3 separate regions of the Homo sapiens genome follow, and regions 2 and 3 are each linked to region 1. Evidence: promoter capture Hi-C in human tissues and cell types (Jung and others, 2019). All regions are on one chromosome and are shown on one strand. The core of a region is centred on a gene start or on the middle of the fragment in contact, and the rest is flanking DNA. Distances in the headings are between cores, read along the strand shown.

What was found. The method cuts DNA at HindIII sites, captures the fragments that hold promoters and counts their contacts. A contact is called where the count stands out against the background at its distance.
Region 2: a fragment that was not itself captured here is called in contact with the fragment with the promoter of KRT6A in region 1 in 2 of the 25 tissues and cell types used here (bladder and heart right ventricle).
Region 3: a fragment that was not itself captured here is called in contact with the fragment with the promoter of KRT6A in region 1 in 2 of the 25 tissues and cell types used here (liver and pancreas).

Annotation. Positions count from the first base shown.
Region 1 is chr12:52,491,950-52,494,646 of GRCh38, forward strand. KRT6A (keratin 6A) reads right to left here and starts at 1,308. Exons shown (of 9, transcript NM_005554.4): 1 at 700-1,308. The coding sequence starts at 1,239. The HindIII fragment of the contact is 9,834 bases long and covers 1-2,697 here.
Region 2 is chr12:52,591,063-52,593,759 of GRCh38, forward strand. KRT72 (keratin 72) reads right to left here. Exons shown (of 9, transcript NM_080747.3): 3 at 1,830-1,890; 4 at 1,334-1,429; 5 at 402-566. Among named protein-coding and RNA genes, the nearest start is that of KRT72, 9.1 kb to the right of the region's middle. The HindIII fragment of the contact is 4,708 bases long and covers 1-2,697 here.
Region 3 is chr12:52,426,288-52,428,984 of GRCh38, forward strand. KRT75 (keratin 75) reads right to left here. Exons shown (of 9, transcript NM_004693.3): 6 at 2,331-2,456; 7 at 1,969-2,189; 8 at 530-564. Among named protein-coding and RNA genes, the nearest start is that of KRT75, 6.7 kb to the right of the region's middle. The HindIII fragment of the contact is 7,225 bases long and covers 1-2,697 here.

The DNA.
Region 1 (2,697 bases), core at 58-2,557:
TCTCACTCTCTAAGTTATTGGACATATTAATGAGTTTCAACATGTCTTTTCCTTCTTTTCCCAGCCAAAATTACAAACATAGTTATAAAATAGTATTCATCTGATAAATTTTACACAGTTTTTATTACTGATAGGACCTCAGTTAGAAGAGATGTTAAATGTTGCCCAATGATTTGATTCCCGTCTTATTTCCCATTTGTGCAAGTCTCTCCTCTAAAACATCCTGATGTTATGGTCATTCTTTGTTTTGAGGATTAATTAACATTTCCACATAACGTATAAACGTTTTAAGTCTTTTTTTTCTTAATCTAGCCAAAATATCCTTTCTTTTGTTTCCAATATTTTTTCCTCTTATCCAGACCCCAGAGTGTAATTTACCAGCCCGTGTACTCCTGGCATTTTCTTTGACGCTTCAAAGGGAAGAGTTAACCTACTCCATTCTCTGATGGCCTCATCTGTGCTTCAGGGTTATGAAAAGTTATGGTTCTCCCTAGGCAGGAGTGAGGGCCACTCCAGAGATCCCATGGGGGAGTGATGCCCATCCCTGCTGCTTGCTGGGCACCAGCAGCCATCTGCACTCTCTGCAGAGCTGGGCTGAGTCCTCTTCTCCCTCCCTCCTAGGTCTCCCTGGCAGGAAGGTGTTGCTCCTCTGGTCTGGGGACCCTGAAGTGCCCCATGGAGGGCATGGCACTGGCTCACCTTGTCGATGAAGGAGGCAAACTTGTTGTTGAGGGTCTTGATCTGTTCACGCTCCTCAGCCCGCACCCGCTGGATGGTGGGATCGATTTGCAGGTTGAGGGGAGTCAGGAGACTCTGGTTGACGGTGACCTCTTGGATGCCTCCAGGGGGGCACACAGGGAAGCCAGGGCCCCCAAAGCCACCAGCAAGGCCGGCTCCACCACCCAGACCAAAGCCAATGCCGGCTCCACCACCGAAACCAAATCCACTCCCGGCGCCACCAAAGCCATAGCTGCCTCCGGCTCTGCTGCCATAGCCGCCACTGATGGCACAGCTGCCCCCTCCAATGGAGATCCTCTTGGAGCCCCCCAGGCCATACAGACTGCGGCTGCCAAAGCCAGCTCCTCCACATGCACCACCCAGGCCACCACTGCCCCTGGAGCGGGACACGGAGACGCTGCTGAAGCCAGAGCGGCTGACCCCAGGGAGCCTGGCTGAGTTGGCACTGAAACCCCGGCGGCTGCTGCTGTGGCTCCTGATGGTGGTGGATGTGCTGGCCATGGTTCCAGGAGATGAGAGAGCTGAGGAGAGTGTGAGAGGCTGGAGGAGAGAGGGAAGAGAAGCAGGACTAGGAATCAGGCTCGGGGCAGCAGCTTATATATGGAGAGCATGGGCTGGGCCCAGTCCTGGAAGGTGAGCTTGCAGGTTGGGAAGGGCTGGGCTTTACCAACAGTGAGATCACACCCAGTTTCTAGAAAGGTATGAAATATGAAGATTGCTTTTTGGCTTCCTTTAGTCATAGAGAAATTCTCCTGCCTTCCAGCCTTGACTTGATCCTAACACAATAAGCCCGGGTATACATTCACTGAAGTCATGAGTTAGTCATGTCCTCAAACAAAGGAGACAAGGAGCTGATCTGTGATAATTGTCCCCTCCTTCTTCTTCATCAGACACTCCCTGTGTGCCCCCTTCCCACACAGGTTTTCTACTCCACTTGCACCAGCCTCACCCTCTGAGTGGGATCCTTCCTGAGGGCGTATGGGCATTTGCCCGATGGCCTGAGCAAGAAGTAGCCTGTTGTGTTTTTTCCACTGCATTTGGACCAGTTCTTCTGGAGCTCCTGGCTGTCCTCCCTTGTGTCCTGGACATAGGAACGGGGTCTGCTTTGGGGATCTAACCCTCCTTTGTCAGGCAAGAGGGACAGAGGAGTTGAGTCTTTACACTGTAGGAGCAACATTTGTTCTGTGTACTGTGTGATCACCTGCCCACATGCCGTTTACCTAAAATGAAGGGAGCAGACATTGCCCAGGGTGCTCAGAGACCTGACTTCTGCCAGGAGTTTCTTTCCATATCTGCACCTCTCTCTCCAGTGCTTGCTTTCCTATTGAGCTTAGTCTCATGTAAATCTGCCTTTCCAGTTGAAATTTATAGACACCTTCTCCCTGCTGTTTTGGAGCATTTACATAGAGCTTAATTTAAACAACGGAAAATGAGTGATATAAAAATCATTAAGGAATTCACTGGATTTTTATTCCCACAGATTTTGACATTTCTTAAGAATCAAGAGTCAGACAGTTTAATTGGGTGTGTAGGGAAAGTCAAGGGGCATATGGAAGCTGTGAATCATAAAATTGTGCCCTTACAAGTGTGATGATGTAACATGTCAATTCCACATTTTAATTTCTGATCTCAGTGCTTGAAATCTCAAATCCATATACACCTTCTGGGAGGGTGGGCAGGCTGACAAAGGTGAGTGTGCTTGGTTTACAGAGGAATGAGCTTCACTTCTCCAGTCCATGCATTAAGCACTGTGCATGAGGAGAATGGAGAGCAATCCTGGGCAATATTGTTCTGTGAGAACCTATGGATAAATGAGCAACCGCAGGAGGAAGAACAAACTCCCATGCTAAGAAGAGCCTCAGGAAAGCTCTTGTTACTATTTTAAAAGCAGTCCCATTTCTCCAACATTTGGAGGGGGGGACACAGCATCCAGGAGAACAGGGTGTTCCCTGTCTAAAG
Region 2 (2,697 bases), core at 112-2,611, 99 kb after region 1:
ATCCTCAGGTTCTCAAACATGAGAGCCTTGGCAGAGTGTGAATTTCCTATCCTCATTTTGCCAAAGTGGAAACATGAAGATAAGACAATATATGTGAATTACCCATAGAAACTGTGTCAGAATCCTATCAGGGTTGTAGCTGGTGTGGCCTCAGCCAAGGGCCGTGATAGGAGAAGGGCTAAGCCCCATATATGTCCGCAAAACAAGCCAAGACTGTAGTTAATCTCCCTTACCCCTGGGGTGGCATTTCCGCAAGGCCCAACTTCAAGACAAAGGAGGTCTTGACTGAGCCCAAATACACACACACACACAAACACACGCACACACACGTACACATGCACACATACTGAGAGGGTGCTAGCTGTGGCCAGTGGGACTCAGCACACCTGGCACCAGCTCACCTTGGTCTGGTACAGGGTCTCAGCCTCGGCCTTGCTCTTTAGGGCAATCTCCTCGTACTGGGCACGGACCTCGGCAATGATGCTGTCCAGGTCCAGATCCCGGTTGTTGTCCATTGACAGGACGATGGACGTGTCGCTGATGTGGGACTGGATCTGAGTGATCTCCTGGGGACGGTTGGGGGAGGGGAGCTAGTTAAGGGGTACTCATGAGGAACCAGTTCTCTTGGTCCTCCCTGGGCAAATTCCTCACTGTCCCTCTGCCTTTCCTCAGCGTTTGAACTCTGCCTCAGCACCAGTGCCTGGCAGGCACGTGAAGAAGTGCCTTAGGCTTTCAGCCCCAAACGCTGAGACTCCTCTCTCCATTGCACACTCAGGAGCACTCCTGCACCCTTCTACATTCTCATCCTCAGAAACCAGCCACCGCCACCCTCCACCCATAGGACCAAGTCTGAACTCTTTACCTAGCATGTGAAGTCCCCTAGGGAGTCACTAGCACCAGTCCCTTCCCCAGGCCTCTGCGCCCTTCTTCATTCCTCATGCTTTAGCACAGGACAGGCTCCTGGACCTTCTATTTTTCTGCCCCCCTCAGCACCCACTGAAATCGTCCTCTTTCTCCTCTCTCTCCAAGAACCTTCACTGATGGCCCAGGCAGAACCCACCATTCCTTCCTCTGCTCTCTGAAAGCTCAGCTACGTGGTGTTTTCCTGCCAAGCTGTGAACTCCTGGAGGGCAAGAATCACTTCTTCTCTTTCACGGACTCCTCAAAACCTAGCTCATTGTTCAGCACCCAGTAGGGCCTTGGTGAATGTCAGGGGCACCAGGTTGAAAGCTTTCTCCCTCCCAATTCTTGGTCCACACCACCTTCCAGCCAGGGGCCAGAAACCTCTTGTTAAAGGAGCAGATCTCACAAGAGAGGTCAGCCAAGTCCTTACCCCTTCATAAAGGCACTTGAAGAATTTAATCTCATCTGTCAAGGAGTCCACCTTGGCCTGGAGCTCAACCTTATTCATGTAAGCAGCATCCACGTCCTGGGAGCACATGATAGTCAAGCCGCCCTGAGAGGGCCTCCCCTGCCCATCCCTCCCTCCCTGCCACAGGAAGCCTTGCTCTTTCCTCTCCCTTCACCCTGTGCTTCATGGGGGGCTCCCTGAGAGTCCCCTTCAGTCCCTGAGAGTAAACCAACTAACGTGCAGTGCAATGGCTACACCAGTAGTGCAGTAAAATGCCCAGATTTTAGACTGGCAAATTCTAGAAACAGCATGCATCCCAGGCAAGGGACTTGGAGGGAGGGGCTGGGAAGTTAGAGTGCCAGTCACCCCTGCCCAAGGGACTGAGTGACCTACAGGGCCCCTTTCCTCACCCTACAAGCATCATTGTGCCAGGTGGTCAGGTCTAGGCTTCTTCCAGCCCACCTGGCACCCCTCTTACCTTCTTGAGCACCACAAACTCATTCTCAGCAGCTGTGCGTCTGTTAATCTCCACCTCATACCTGCATGGGGCAAGACAATGAGGTAATTCAGTTCTGCAAACACTCACTGAACAGTTAGTGACCACCTCTGTGCTGAGAGCTGCAGGGTGGGGGTCTTCAAACTGGGATTCCCATACCCCTGGGGCACACATAACCTTGCTTAAGAGGATGCAGGCAAGGACATAGTTAAAGGAATCAATTTCCAGCTCCTTTGTGCCTGTGCATTCTGTCTTAAAACTACCTGCCTCAGAGAGCACCTGTGGTTGAGATGTCATGCAGACTCTACTGTCCCTCTCCCTGTCACAATTAGCCCCTCCCACATTATAGCAGAGGTGAAAAGACACTCCCTTCTGGCACATGGCATCTTAATACTGTGCAATGGCTCAGGGTGCAAAAACCTCCTAGGCACCAAACAAAAGCACCATTCTCACTTTCAAACTGTATGTTATACCTATTTCTTATACATATTTCTGTTCCAGGTGAAGCAGAAACAGAAGCAAGGTCTAAGACACAGAAATGTGGTTAGGACTGGGATGTTCTTAATACAGACATATTGTTGATTGGGGAGGTAAGAGTACTAACCATTTTATTTAAAGAGCTTACCTCTTCCATCCCTTATTATTCTCAAAGAATGCATTACAGGACATTTGTGAGAGTATGGTAACGAAATAGAGCATTGGTAAGAAATAATTAATGCTAAATGGATAAGCAAAATGTGGTGTATACATACAATGGGATATCATTCAGACTTAGAAAGAAAAAAAATTCTACAATATGCTACGACATGGATGAACCTTGAGGACCTTTTGCTAAGTGAAAGAAGCCAAT
Region 3 (2,697 bases), core at 143-2,642, 66 kb before region 1:
CTTGAAAACCCTTGGCATCCTTCTGCAGTTATACTCGGCAGAGTTGAGCCAAGCAGTGGAGCTTCTTCTCAAACTGTTTAGGAGAGAAGCTGCCTAGTTGGCAATGCTCTTGTCCACAGCATGAAGGCTCCCTTCAAAGGTCCAAGCCAGACCAGGAATTTTCATAAATCCCGTCTACATCAAGTGCTCACCTCTGTGCTAGGCTTGCAGCCCCAACAAAAAGGCAGGGAATTCTGGGAGGTAGGAGATGTGGCCAGGATCTTTTAAACCCACTCAGAACAATGACATCAAACCTCTCATCACCCCTTCTGTGACACCCTCACTCTCAAAGAGGAAAGAACTGTGACATTAAAGACTCCTAATATGGCTTGCTTTTTAAGGGACCCAAAACCTCAAACCTTCTCCAAATGAACGCTGTCTGTGAGATCCCGTCTAACCCGTCATATCTTCACCCTCTGGCAAGCCCACCACATCCCCATCCCCTCTACCACACACACTCCAAATGGCCCAAGAAGTATGTCATACTCACAAATGTTAACTGGAGAAACTCCCTCTCCACTCAACCTGATTGGGAAGAGCAGGGAGAAGGAAGGTTACCAATGTGGCCAGCAGCTTAAGGGCCTTTGCAATGACACTTTTGTAATTGTTGACAAAGCATTTAAACATACTTTATTATTTTTATTGCAGAAGTAATGCAGGTTGAAATTATTTGAGAACTAGTAGTATTAAAGATAATATTAATAATCTAATGAATAAAATAAGGTGGAGTTTGAGGTTCACAGGAGCAAAATCTATAATCTCAGAAATACAATTTTTGGTTTAAACTAGTTAGATGCCTTAAGGAAATTAAAAGTAATCATATACTGGCATCAACTGGAAAGAAGGGCCTGTCCTATAATAAGATTTGTCTCTCAACAAGGGACCATTGTCATGCACTGAGCCAGGGCTGAGCTTATTGTATATAGGTGTGGAGAGGCGTCTGAGTCATAAAAATAACAATAGTAATATCAGTTTATTATTATCTTAGCAACCAAGTAACTTTGCTTTAGCATCTTCAGGACAGAACTGGCATTCATTCATAAACACATACTGAGAAACTTAACAAGAGGTAACAGCTGTTGATTACCTGTTACTTATATCACACCACTTAGTTCTCTCAACAACCCCATGAGGTAGGTATTATTTGCTCACTTTTATAGAGGGAGAAATGGAAGCTCAGACAAGTTAACTAACTTGCCCATAGTCGCAAAGCTGGACTTGAAGACAGATTCATCTGACACCAAAGCCTATGTCTTTGGCCATGAAACTGAATGATAGCTAACATTTATCGAACACGCTGTGTACCATGCATTGTTCTAAGAGCTTTGTGTGTATTCCCTTATTTTAACCCTTTTAATAATGTGAGAGTTTAGAACTATTGTTATTCACATTTTATTGGATGAGAACACTGAGAGGTGGAGAGGTTAAGTATCTGCTCTTGGCTACACAGCTCCTAACTGGCAGAGCACAAAGCTCCCATGAAGCTTTGCGGATCATGTAATCTGACCTTTTCATTTTATCATTGAAGAAATTGAGGGCCAGAGAAGGGAGACTGACTTTCCCAAGGTTATGTAGCTACTTAGTGTTAGATCTGTAAGCCCAAATCCTAGGACTGTTTGTTCTCAGCCCATGGCCTTTTAGACCACATTTCGAGAGCTGCCATGTAACCAAATGTCTCCTTTGGTAGAATTCAGTTACTTAGACCTGATCAGGTTTTAGGTTTCTATGGGGATGCTAACTGTAGTTGCACCTCAAATGATTTACTAGCCTGGAAGGAAATTAAAATTATTTTTTTGCCATAGCCCAATTCTGAACTGCATTTTCTTCCAGGAGAAGAAGGGGCTGCAACAGCCCGAGCCCCTAGGAATGCCCAGGAAGCTGAGGTGAGCTCAACTTGCTTTGAGGATGAAGTTGGTGCATCTGCCTCACCTGCACTCCTCGCCTTCCAGCAGCTTGCGGTAGGTGGCGATCTCCACGTCCAGGGCCAGCTTGATGTTCATCAGCTCCTGGTACTCACGCAGGAGCCGAGCCATGTCCTGCTTGGCCTTCTGCAGGGCCTCCTCAAGGTCCACCAGCTTGGCCCGTGCATCCTTGAGAGCCAGTTCTCCCCGCTGCTCTGCATCAGCAATGGCCGTTTGCAAGCTGGAACACTGTAAGGACAGGAGGAAGCCATGAGTCCTGCTGACAGCCCATGGAGGTGTGGTGCTTCTTGGGGAGGAGTTCTTAAAGATGGCAGAAAGGCCCAGAAGAAATGAGCATTTGAGGAGCTCTTGGCCCTGCCAAATCTTTACCTGCTTCTTGACGCTGTCAATCTCAGCTCTCAGCCTCTGGATCATGCGGTTCATTTCAGAGATCTCTTGTTTGGTGTTTCGAAGGTCATCCCCATGTCTGCCTGCGGTGACCTGCAGCTCCTCGTACTGAGAGAACCAGAGCAAACCCAGTCACTGAGTCAAATGCCTGGCCCAGGCACTCGCTGTGCACACAGACCCACCCTGGGTGCCACAAGCAGGCTCATTCATTCCTGGTCATTCACTCATTCCCCCTGAAGCTTACAGTTTATTGGGGGACATAGACATTAACTGAATTAGCATATTATCAAATGTATAGTTCCACACTAAGATAAGTGCCCTTAGGAAATGAACAGGGTCCTGGGAGAGT